2 separate regions of the Homo sapiens genome follow, and region 2 is linked to region 1. Evidence: promoter capture Hi-C in human tissues and cell types (Jung and others, 2019). All regions are on one chromosome and are shown on one strand. Each heading gives the region's core, a stretch centred on a gene start or on the middle of the fragment in contact. The rest is flanking DNA. Distances are from core to core; before and after follow the strand shown. Region 1 holds the start of CALML4 (calmodulin like 4). Region 2 has its middle 58 kb from the start of PIAS1.

Region 1 (5,693 bases), core at 384-2,883:
TCTCCCTTTCGTGCTGAGGTGTAGCACACACGGTGCGCCCTACAGCATGGTGAGTTGCTGTATCGTGAACCCTCACGCAGCCATTGCCCCACGCTGGTGTTTTCCATCTGTGCGTCACCCCCGGAGACACCTACACACATAAGGAGGGAGTTGGCCGGGGCACCCCAGCACACACTGGCCTAACTCCAAGGAGGCACCTCATCTCTTCTGGAGCCCCTTCCCACAGGCAAGGGGATTCAGAGGGAGCATGTTGGCCTGGCCGCCTTCAGGCTTCCAGAGTCCCAAGTGACTTTCCTTGATGTCCTTCTCTCCATCCTCTGCACAGAGGCAGCCTTCCCTCCTCTTATCCCTGCCATGGGGTTTGGGAGGGGGAGCCTCAAACTCTGACAGGGAGGAGTCGGAGTCCCCAGCTAAAATTCTCTGGGTCTAGAAACAGGTGTAAAGCGATTCTGGGGATGTGATTTGGGAGAAAAGCACACTTTCCACACAGAGGCGGTCAGGAAAGGAGCGGGGAGGGGAGAGTGGGGCACAGGCAGCGCCTCCCGTCTATGCGCCTGTGTGCAAAGTGGCACAATGCCCCCCTTCCTATTGGCAGTGCAGCCCCTGGCCAGCAACCACTCGCACCTGGGCTGGGGGCCTTTGTGTAGGGCACACCTGTGCAGCCACACCTACTTGTAGAGCCTCATAGACTCAGCTGTGGACAAAAGCCTCACGCCCCAAACAGGGAAATGGGATCTCAAGGGGAAGAAGCTGGGGAGGCCTCACACCCTGCCCCCATTTCCTCCTATGTGGGGGAGGGGAGCAGCACGAACTCCTGAAGACTTGGGAGCGTCAGCAGCTTCTGCGGAAGGGGTGGGGCTGAGGGTGGAGAGAGGAAGGGAAGGAAGAAAAGGGGAGCCTTCCTGGCCAGGGTAACCGGCACTAAGAGGCCTCACTCCAAGCCCCCGAGGAGCCTGTGGTGGGGCTGGAGACCCGGCTCAGGCCCCTCCACCACCCTTAAAGTCCTCAGAAGGTGGGAACTGAACTGGCACAGGATGGGAACCGGCTGTGCGCTGGCCACTTGATTTTGCCAGCTGCCCTGTAATTCAGCTGGTGAGGAAACTGAGGCACAGACTGAGGTAGAATGATTCGCCAGTCACTCAGCAAGTCAGCAGACGGGGAGGACTGAATCCCAGCCTGAGAGCACCGAAGCTTGTATCCCTGCAATACCGAGCCCCAAGCCTGCGAGCCCCGGTGCCCATCTCTGAGTTAGGCCGTCTTGGAAGGGTTCCCTTCCTCCTACAAGATGGTGTGTGAGGAGCCTTCAATACGACCCGGGGTGTAAAGTGTCCAACTCTAGTAGGGGCCTGATGGCATCCCCGCCGAGTCCCAGGAGAGAGAGAGAAGACCCCTTCCTGGAGTCCAGGGCTCCCGGGAAGAAACACTGGCATTTGTCCCTTTGCTTCGGCTTCTGGAGGCAGAGACTCTGAGCCCAGGGAGAGCCTTCTGCAGCCCCATTTCCTCAAAAATCCAACCTGCCCAGGTGGCGGGTCATGAGCTGTGCTCAGGAAGCTGGAATCTGACCCTGGTGGCGTCGGGCCCAGTCTCCATGGCAGCCGAGCATTTATTACCCGGGCCTCCACCCAGCTTGGCAGACTTTAGACTTGAGGCTGGAGGAAAGGGAACTGAACGCGGTTCTGGGAGCAGCAAGCCCACGGGTAGCAGCCGAGGCCCCAGAATGGTGAGTGTGAGGGTCTGTGTCGGCCTGGCCAGGGCTGGGGGCGTGAACCTCAGGTGGAGCCCTCCCCTGACTGTTTTCCTTTCTCTGCTGCAGGCCAAGTTTCTTTCCCAAGACCAAATTAATGGTAGGTTGGGTTTGTTCTTTGATTAGCAACTCAGCAAAATATGGGTCTCATTAGGCAATTTGCTCTGCTCATGTTTTCTTGGTGGGAAGGAAGGTGGCTGTGGGAGAGCTGGGCCCACCCAGGGCCAAGAGCTGCGGGGAGGCTGCTGTTGGCGGGGTGGGGGTTGGGGGTAAGCCTCCAAAATAGACATGTGGCTTTATACTTGTCAGTGTGACTTACAAGCCAGGGCGCTAAGACAGAACTTACTAGGTTTCCCTCCAGAACCTGACCAGTTGGATTTGGGGACTGAGGGGACTGGGGATGGAGAGAGAGACCATTAAAGGTATGGCTGGCAGCAGGGAAAGAGGAGGGGCTTTGTAATTGAGACAGAACAGAGGCCAGGTCTGCACTCTCTGGCAGGATGCGTCTACTCTCTGCGCCTCAGTCTCCCTATCTGTAAAATGGAGGGTCCACTGAGCCCCCTTTGCCCTGGCATCAAGCCTGGTTTGGGCGTGAGCACTTTATTCCCTGGGTCCCCTACTCTGCCAGCCCTCGACCAGGCTTCAGTTTCACACCGTGCAGGGTTCTATTTCCAGAAGGCCAAGAGCAAAGAGTTGCGTTACAAAGAACTTGGGGGCCCAGACCTGAGCCAGGGGAGCCTCATGGCTGCAGCCCCCCTGCACCTGGCAGGAGAGGCCCAGGAGGCACAGCCAGCTGCTGCTTGAGGTTGTGACCCTGAAACCTGTCCCAACAGTGGACGTCAATGGGCCTGAGAGTCCCCCGAGGCATCCCATTCCTCCAGGTCTTTGCTGAAACATCGCCTTCTCAGTGAGTCCTTCGCTGACCACTGGAGATAAAATTACAGGCACCTTGGGCCCTTGTGATCCAGGGTAGGGTCCTGAGAGCCCAGCCAAGTGGGGTTAGGGTTACCTGGGCAGGAGTTCCAGAGTTCTGGGTATTCTGAGCTTGGTCCAGAGGGGCAGGAATTGTGAGCTCCAGGTGGGCACCTCCACGTAGAACCCTGGAACTCTTTATCCCAAGAGGAGGGCCAGGGCAGGAGCAGGGACTTTTAAAACACAGGGCCCGGGGCAGTGCCCTCTTGTCCAGGTCTAACGGTGATAATGAATGGTGGACTGAGGGCTGGAGTCCAGCCTTCAGCCTCAGCATCCTCCCACCCATGCCTGGTTTTGAGGCTCACTGACCCTCCCTCCTGGGATAGCCAAAGCTCCCAGAAGGGAAGAAGGTAAATTGTCTTTGTATCCCAGTATCTGACACCAAGAAAGTGGCCACCAGTGTTTAATGAGTGTGTGAAAGACTGGATGGGGTGGCCTAGCGAAGTGGGAAGAACAGGGGCTTTGGAGGCAGCAGACCTGAAGCCTAATCACCCTTGAGCCTCGGTTTTCTCACCTATGAAGTAGGATATGCCACCTTACCAGGCTGCTGCGAGCCACGGACAGAGGGGAATAATGTCAGTTACATGCTGGACGCTGGGCCAGGCATAGCCAGGTGTCACCCACATGTGGGCTGGGGCTGGCTCACTACAGCTAGCAAGAGCCATAGTTTTAGGAATTTTGCAAGCAGGATGTTAAAGCCAGCCATTATTAAATAATGTAGGATCAAACAGTGTTTCAATCCCTACATCTATCTGTACAAAAAGTTAAAAAGACAGCCCTATTGTGATCAGTGGAGATGGAGATTTGAAAGAAGTTTCAATTTAATGAATGTGTTTGGTAAAAGGGTGAGAAATAGTTTAACAGTAGATCACATCAGGTTTAATGACCATTCATTCATTGGAAAAAGAATCGCACTCATTGGCGCGCAGCTTCATTTGTCAAATCATGGTTGAATCGAAACTATAGGTTGGCAATGGATATAAGAGTTGGCAAAACTTGGGCTGAGTGCAGTGGCTCACGTCTGTAATCCCAGCACTTTGGGAGGCCGAGGCATGTGGATCACCTGATGTCAGGGGTTTGAAACCAGCCTGGCCAACATGGTGAAACCCCATCTCTACTAAAAATACAAAACTGGCCAGGTGCAGTTGGCTCATGCCTGTAATCCCAGCACTTTGAGAGACCGAGGGAGGCAGATCACCTGAGGTCAGGAGTTTGAGACCAGCCTGGCCAACATGGTGAAACCCTATCTCTACTAAAAGTACAAAAATTAGCCTGGTGTGCTGGCAGGCACCTGTAATTCCAGCTACTCAGGAGGCTGAGGCAGGAGAATCACTTGAACCCAGGAGGCGGAGGTTGCAGTGAACCGAGATTGAGCCACTACACTCCAGCCTGGGCAACAAGAGCGAGACTCTGTCTCAAAAAAAAAAAAAAAAAAAAAAAAGCCGGTCATGGTGGCACATGCCTATAATCCCAGCTTCTTGGGAGGCTGAGGCAGGAGAATCACTTGAACCTGGGAGGTGGAGGCTGCAGTGAGCTGAAATTGTGCCATTGCACTCTAGCCTGGGCAACAAGAGCAAAACTCTCTCAAAAAAAAAAAAAAAAAAAGTTGGCAAAACTCATTTGTGGTAATCAAGTGGCTAGATGGAATTTATTTATTTGAGACAGAGTCTTGCTCTGTGCAATGGCATGATCTCCGCTCATTTCAACCTTCACCACCCAGACTCAAGGGATTCTCCCACCTCTGTCTCCTGAGTAGCTGGGACTACAGGCATGCACCACCACACACAAAACATTTGTAAATATTTTGTAGACATGAGGTCTTACTATATTGTCCAGGCTGGTCTCGAACTCCTGGGCCCAAGCGATACTCCTGTCTCACCCTCCCAAAGTGCTGGGATTACAGGCGTGAGCCACTGCACCCAGCCCTAGATGGAATTTATAATAAAGAATAGTGTACATTTCTGTATTATTTGTAAATTGTGTGCTACACATCCTTTATGTTTGTACAGTGCAGAGGACACAAGTACATTTATGATCAGAGCTGGTGGTTAAACATCCAGCACAGCTGGTGTTATCCTAGGCCTTGCACAGGTCTCTTTCTTGTCCTGGGGGATTTGCATTTTCAAAGAGAAGACTTAAAGGGGATTTTTAATCCAATTCATTTAACCCAATTAATCCTTTCATTCAACAAATGTTTGTGTCCCTTCTTTGTGCCTGGAGCTACATACAACAGTGAACTCAAAGACAAAAATCCCTTCCTCACAGGGGGTCACCATCGAGGGAGGGGAACGTGGTGAAATATATGTGCTAGTATGTTAGAGGGCCGACCTGTCAGGAGAAAAAGCAGGAAGGAGAGCCAGGAGGTGAGGAGGGAGAGTGAAGAGATGGTGGAGGAAGGGGCCAGCAGGAAGCCCAGCTGGGTCTCCAGCACCCTGTTGTCTTGTTCCAGTGCAGGAATGCAAAGTTCAGATGTGGCCTTCCAGGTCTTTAAAGGCGTCTGAGGCAGGGAGACAGCACGTATCTGATGTGAAGGTTTGTGAGGAGGTGGGCCTCTATTTGAGCCCTGGCCCTGCTGCTGGCAAGGACCACAGGCCCCCAGTGACTGACAGGGCTTGTCGGGGAGTAGTGAAGTGCCCCCATCTGCAGATCCAGGCTGATTCTGGACCCCAAGGGTGTGATGAGCACCTTCCAGCACAGGTCAGGCAGGGAGAGCAGTGGGCCTTGGGCCCACCCTCACCCAAGGGCAAACCCAGACAGAAAGACAAGGTGAGGGTGGCCATGAGAGGTCCCCAGGGGTACCCCCTGTAGTGCTAAGGTTAAGCTCTGTGATTGGGGCAGCCCTCTCTCTGTCCCCCTGACGTGAGGTGATGGCATTGTCCCCTCTGGCACTGGGCCCTCTTGCAGGCAATTGGGTTTTATGGGAACTAAACCTGGGGTCTTAGGCCAGGCTCTGGCCCTGCTTCCCCTGGGCCTTTTT
Region 2 (5,487 bases), core at 1,960-4,459, 210 kb after region 1:
TTTTAGGCTAGGCAGAGTGGCTCATGCCTATAATCCCAGCACTTTGGCAGGCTGAGGTGGGAGGATCACTTGAGCCCAGTTCAAGGCCAGCATGGGCACCATAAGGAGACCCTTTATCTTGGAAAAACAAACAGAAAGAAAATAAAAGAATAGAATTGTGATTTCCTACCAGCTTTCTATAATCTGTTCCTATTTTCCCAATTCCTCATTCCTCCAAAAGAACATTTTTCACAGTTAAAAAATAATCTCCAATTATTCTTTCATGAGCACGTCCTGAGTGGGATTCCATAGCTTATAAACTTTCAGTTAGTGTGAGTGGCTGATGATGATGACAATGATGCCTCAACTATGCACAGTGATTAATATCTCAATGTCAGTATTTCACAATATGGAGCTCAAGTTACAGTCTTAAACCAGGGGAAAAACATGAGAGGTATTTTTAGTGAAAATCCTTGTTGAAAGACTCCCCACCTATAGAAACATACAGAATAGCTGCAGGGGAGTAGATCATCGTTTTCCTAAAATTTTGGCAAGAAACTGTGAGGAGTCCTGATAAGGCTGGCAACACGGAAGAATATTTTTTCCTCTTGGTGGCACCCAGCCAGCTCCTGGCAGCCCTGTGCCAGCTTCCCAGAGCTGCAAATGGCTTGGAGCAATTTTATCTTGACTTTATTATCCTAACTCACAACCTATAGAAGCAATAAAAGAGAAAACACGACGGAGGAAATGTGAAGCAGTAGCAATGGGCCATGACCAATTTAAGATGAAGTTCAAAATGCACAACCGAGCTACAGACTTAGTCCAAATTTGAACTTAGTAGGTACTAAGGTGGATAAGCCCCCCAAAATGTAGTGGCGTTAGAAAAATACAAGGAAAAGAACTATAATATTCCTTGGACTCCACGTGGGGCCAGACAGGCAGAGATTCTTTTTCCTCCCTCTTGGGAGACTTGAAATGGAAGTCATGGATGATAAAAATGATTTTCTATGTAATTCATAGGGCTATAATATCATCTGTAGCATTACAAGTGATTGTAATACTACAGACACTGATCATCATTGATTCATGCATTAATTTATGAAATATGTTATGACATCCACTCTGCCCTTAAATAGCTCACAGTCCAGGGAGGGGCTTAGTCATGAAAACAAATAGTTAGAAGACAAAATGATAAGTTAGGTCAGGCATGATGACTCATGCCTATAATCCCAGCCCTTTGGGAGGCCAAGGCAGGTGGATCACTTGAGCCCAGGAGTTCAAGACCAGCCTGGACAACATAGTGAGACCTTGCCTCTACAAAAAATAAAAATACATTAGCCGAGTATGGTGGCACACACCTGTGGTCCCAGCTACTGGGAAGGCTAAGGCAGAAGGATTACTGAAGCCCAGAAAATTGAACCTACAGTGAGCTGTGATCATGCTACTGTACCCCAGCATGGGCAACACAGCGAGACCCTGTCTCAAAAAACAAACAAGCAAAACCCAAAATAAGTTATACAACAAAAAGATGGGATGCAGAGAGGAAAGAGTCTGATTTATCCCTTGAGGATAGCAAGCTGGGTGAAAACCTGAGATTCTGGGGCTGAGACAGGGAATTCTTCTTCATAGAGAGTTGGGCCACTAGAACCAGAAGTTTGAACCATGTCCAGGATCCATGCAGAAAATTAAAGTCAAAGGCAGAAGGAAAGTCCTAGGGCAGGAGGACAAGACAAATGGTTCAGAGGCAGCTTGCATTGCTGGAGCACAGAGCTCCAAATCCTGGAACCAAGGAGACCAGATTGATCACAAAAAGGTAGAGTCAGCATCAATTGCCTGAGTAATTCCCTCAGTCCCAGCAGCCCTGTCACTTCTTTGGGCCCCACCTCATGATCAAGCAACCAATGAGTTAAGATGGCCCAACAGGGGCCCCAGGACCACACTTCATGCCAGGCCTGCTTCTGTGTGGATTGCTTCTACATGCTGGTCAGGGGAGTGATGTGAGAGTAGATCAGCTAGCTTGGAGGGCTAAGGATGCAATGAAGGCAGAGCCTTGCCCTTGCTCTTGGGGGGAAAGGGGGATGTTTTCTCAGAGACACTGATAAACAGGCAGGTGTTCATCTGGTAGAAATAGGAAGTGAGGGAGTGGCATGTGTAAAGGCAGGAAGCGTGTGACAGGCTGGGCAATGGGCTGGAGGGGTCATGGCTACCCATGAGCATCAGCCAGTTGAGTTGAGCTATTTGGGGGACCCTTGGGTATGGCCTTGGTTACAGGTATAGGACTTTATCCCATAGACAAAGAGAAGGAAGATGTTCTCTTCAATTAAGAAGTGGTTCTGGGCCGGGCACGGTGGCTCATGCCTGTAATCCCAGCACTTTGGGAGGCCAAGGCAGGCGGATCATGAGGTCAAGAGATCGAGACAATCCCGGCCAACACGGTGAAACCCCGTCTCTACTAAAAATACAAAAATTAGCTGGGCATGGTTGTGTGTGTCTGTAATCCCAACTACTCAGGAGGCTGAGGCAGGAGAATTGCTTGAACCTGGGAAGCGGAGGTTGCAATGAGCCAAGATCGCACCACTGCCCTCTAGCCTGGCGACAGAGCAAGACTTTGTCTCAAAAAAAAAAAAAAAAAAAAAATTAAAAAGAAAGAAAGAAGTGGTTCTGAATCCTCAGGTGCCCAGGAGCTCTCATTGCCCTGCTAGATAGGCCTGAAACCTGGCAGTCACCATGCTCTTCTCCGTGTCCCAGAGAACAAGCCACCAGGAAATAGAAGGGAGTTGTTTGCTGCCATTTCACTGCCTCTGCGCTGAGTAGGGATGCAGATAGATGTTCCAGCTACAGGGCAGCTTTGAGAGAGTGCCCAGAGGGCTGCAGACATCAGCAGCACCCCATGACCACACCAAAGAGGCCTCAGGAGAGAAAGCAGTTCCACTGTCCCTAATCCTAGGACACAGCCATTTCTCTAGGCCTTGACCTGTGACCTCCCAGACTCCCAAGAGGCCCACAGTCTGTGACTGATCAAGAGGTAGTTTCACATTTGTCCTTTGTGGCAAATAATACATCCTCATATTAAAAGAAAGCTAGCTTACTAGGGATACAGCTCATTTGTCCCTGGTCTGGCCCTTGGGGAAAGAGCTTGATTGTATCCAAAGCATAAGCATCGTCTAAAAATCCAACAGACTTTCTTTCCTTCCCATCAATGTATAAATTCACCTGAAACACTGCTTTAGAACGGTCAAACCTTCAGGGCTTCCAGAGGACTACTCCACCCAGCCTCAAGACAGCCCTGTGAGGGGGGGAAAATGAGGCGCAGCAAGGCCAAGGCCCACTGCTCATGAAGCTGAGCTTCAAACCCAGACCTGCCAGACACCCAGTCCATGCATTTCCCACAGGCCCACAGGGTTGCTCCTCCTAAACGGGCGGAGAAGCAAAGGCTGCTCTTTCCAAGGCTCTGTGGGTCCAGCAGAACATTTGCTTGTCAGGTCAGGTGAGTTTATTCATCTTATAATTTAAACCAGACTGGGCCTTAAAGACAACACCTCATGAGGTTGAAAAGTATGTGGGGAGGGAGGGTTCATAATAATATTTTGCATTAATAGGGGTCTCTGTTTTCCCAAGCATTTTACAGTTCCCACTGAACTGGGTCTTCCAGCCCTCCTGTGAGAGAGTCAGAGCATTTCTTACCTCCAGCTCCTTCAGAGGATTAGGGCAGAGGGCAGCCAGCCTGCTTCACCTGAGCTGGCCCAAACCTCAGCTGCTTCCCCTTAAGGGGTTCCAGTCCCTCAGTGTCACTACCAGCAAGGAGGTTTGAACGGCAGGGTCTCTTCAACACCACATGCTCCCCCTGATGGCTTGCGAGGACCATCTGAGTCCTCACTCCTGATCCTGTTGGGAGCAAGTGCCTTTTCTCACAGGAGGGAGAGGCCACTCTCCTCCTCTGCCTGACCTCTTTATCTCCACAGCAATGTCATATGAGGCGAAACTAGGAGGATAAGATATCTAGGGGAATCTCTGTGTAGTAGTGGGAAACATTTTAAGCTTGCGTGCTATATAATTTTTCATAGTTTGACGGAGCACATCAATAAGTTAAACCCTCCCCAGGGCTGCCATGTTGCACAACTCAGTCCTACCTGGGGCCCTACCAGTCTCTAATCCTGTGCCCCAGCCTCAGGCTTCTCTGAGAAAGCTTCCTCCTTTGTGCTTCTGCCTTACAGATCTGACTTGCACATCTTTTTACTCTGGCTTGCAAATCTTCTCCCACTTTTCAGGAAATCTCACCTTCAAAGTCTAGGGCTTGATCTTACCCCAAAGCATCTCCTTCTCCTCAATACCATTCTTTAAGTCTGAGTTATTGAGTCTGGGATGATATCCAGGGTCAGCAGGACTGATCACAGTCAGCAGAGGCACACTGTTCCATAAAACAGAACTACCATCCGGAGGATCAGGTATGCTTCTTTATTTTTCTGATTAACCAGGGCATAACTTTTATTTTATTTTATTTTACTTTGAGATGGAGTCTTGCTCTGTCACCCAGTCTGGAGTGTAGTGACACAATCACAGCTCACTGCAAGCGCTGCCTCCCGAGTTCAAGTGATTCTCCTGCCTCAGCCTCCCAAGTAGCTGCGATTACAGGTGTGTGCCAGCACACCTGGCTAATTTTTGTATTTTTAGTAGAGACAGGGTTTCATCATGTTGGCCAGACTAGTCTTGAACTCCTGACCTCAAGTGATCTGCTTGCCTCGGCCTCCCAAAGTGCTGGGATTACAGGTGTGAGCCACCACGCCCGGCCACCAGTGCATAACTTTTATTAGGTTGGTGCAAAAGTAATTTCAGTTTTTGCCATTAAGTAATGGATAAATTAGATAGATTGGATACACACATATCTGTAATGTTTTCAGTCTAAAGTCCTAAAACCAAACGAAGCCTGCAAACATCTTCTATTTGGCCAGTATTATGAGTTTTTTTTTGTTTTTGGTTTTGGTTTTGTTTTTTTTGAGACTGAGTCTTGCTCTGTCGCCCAGGCCGGAGTGCAGTGGCGTGATCTCGGCTCACTGCAAGCTCCACCTCCTGGGTTCATGCCATTCTCCTGCCTCAGCCTCCTGAGTAGCTGGGACTACAGGTGCCCGCCACCACGGCCCGGCTAATTTTTTTGTATTTTTAGTAGAGACGGGGTTTCACCGTGTTAGCCGGGATGGTCTCGATCTCCTGACCTCATGATCCGCCTATCTCGGCCTCCCAAAGTGCTGGGATTACAGGTGTGAGCCACCGCGTCCGGCTGGCCAGTACTACGTTTTTAAAAATACCTGAGAATTGGAAATCCTTTAGGTAGGACAGGCACTCTCAGCCACAGTCCCCACTGCTCCCTGCTGCCCTACACCCAGGCTGATTCACTTATTTATATTATCTGTGTTGCCCTTAGAGGCATCTGTGTTTGCAACCACTCTTCCAAATCCACAAAGAAGGAAAACATCTAATTGTCCCCTAGTTTGCAACCGTGCTTCTCTCTCA

The links. Contacts are between HindIII fragments. The study calls those that stand out against the background at their distance.
Region 2: a fragment that was not itself captured here is called in contact with the fragment with the promoter of CALML4 in region 1 in 2 of the 25 tissues and cell types used here (IMR-90 fibroblasts and adrenal gland).

Annotation. Positions count from the first base shown.
Region 1 is chr15:68,201,272-68,206,964 of GRCh38, reverse strand. It overlaps CALML4 (calmodulin like 4), which reads left to right and starts at 1,633. Exons shown (of 5, transcript NM_033429.3): 1 at 1,633-1,720; 2 at 1,814-1,844. The coding sequence starts at 1,718. RefSeq lists enhancers at 640-934, 5,673-5,693. The HindIII fragment of the contact is 22,474 bases long and covers 1-5,693 here.
Region 2 is chr15:67,993,913-67,999,399 of GRCh38, reverse strand. No RefSeq gene overlaps it. Among named protein-coding and RNA genes, the nearest start is that of PIAS1, 58 kb to the left of the region's middle. The HindIII fragment of the contact is 3,828 bases long and covers 1,296-5,123 here.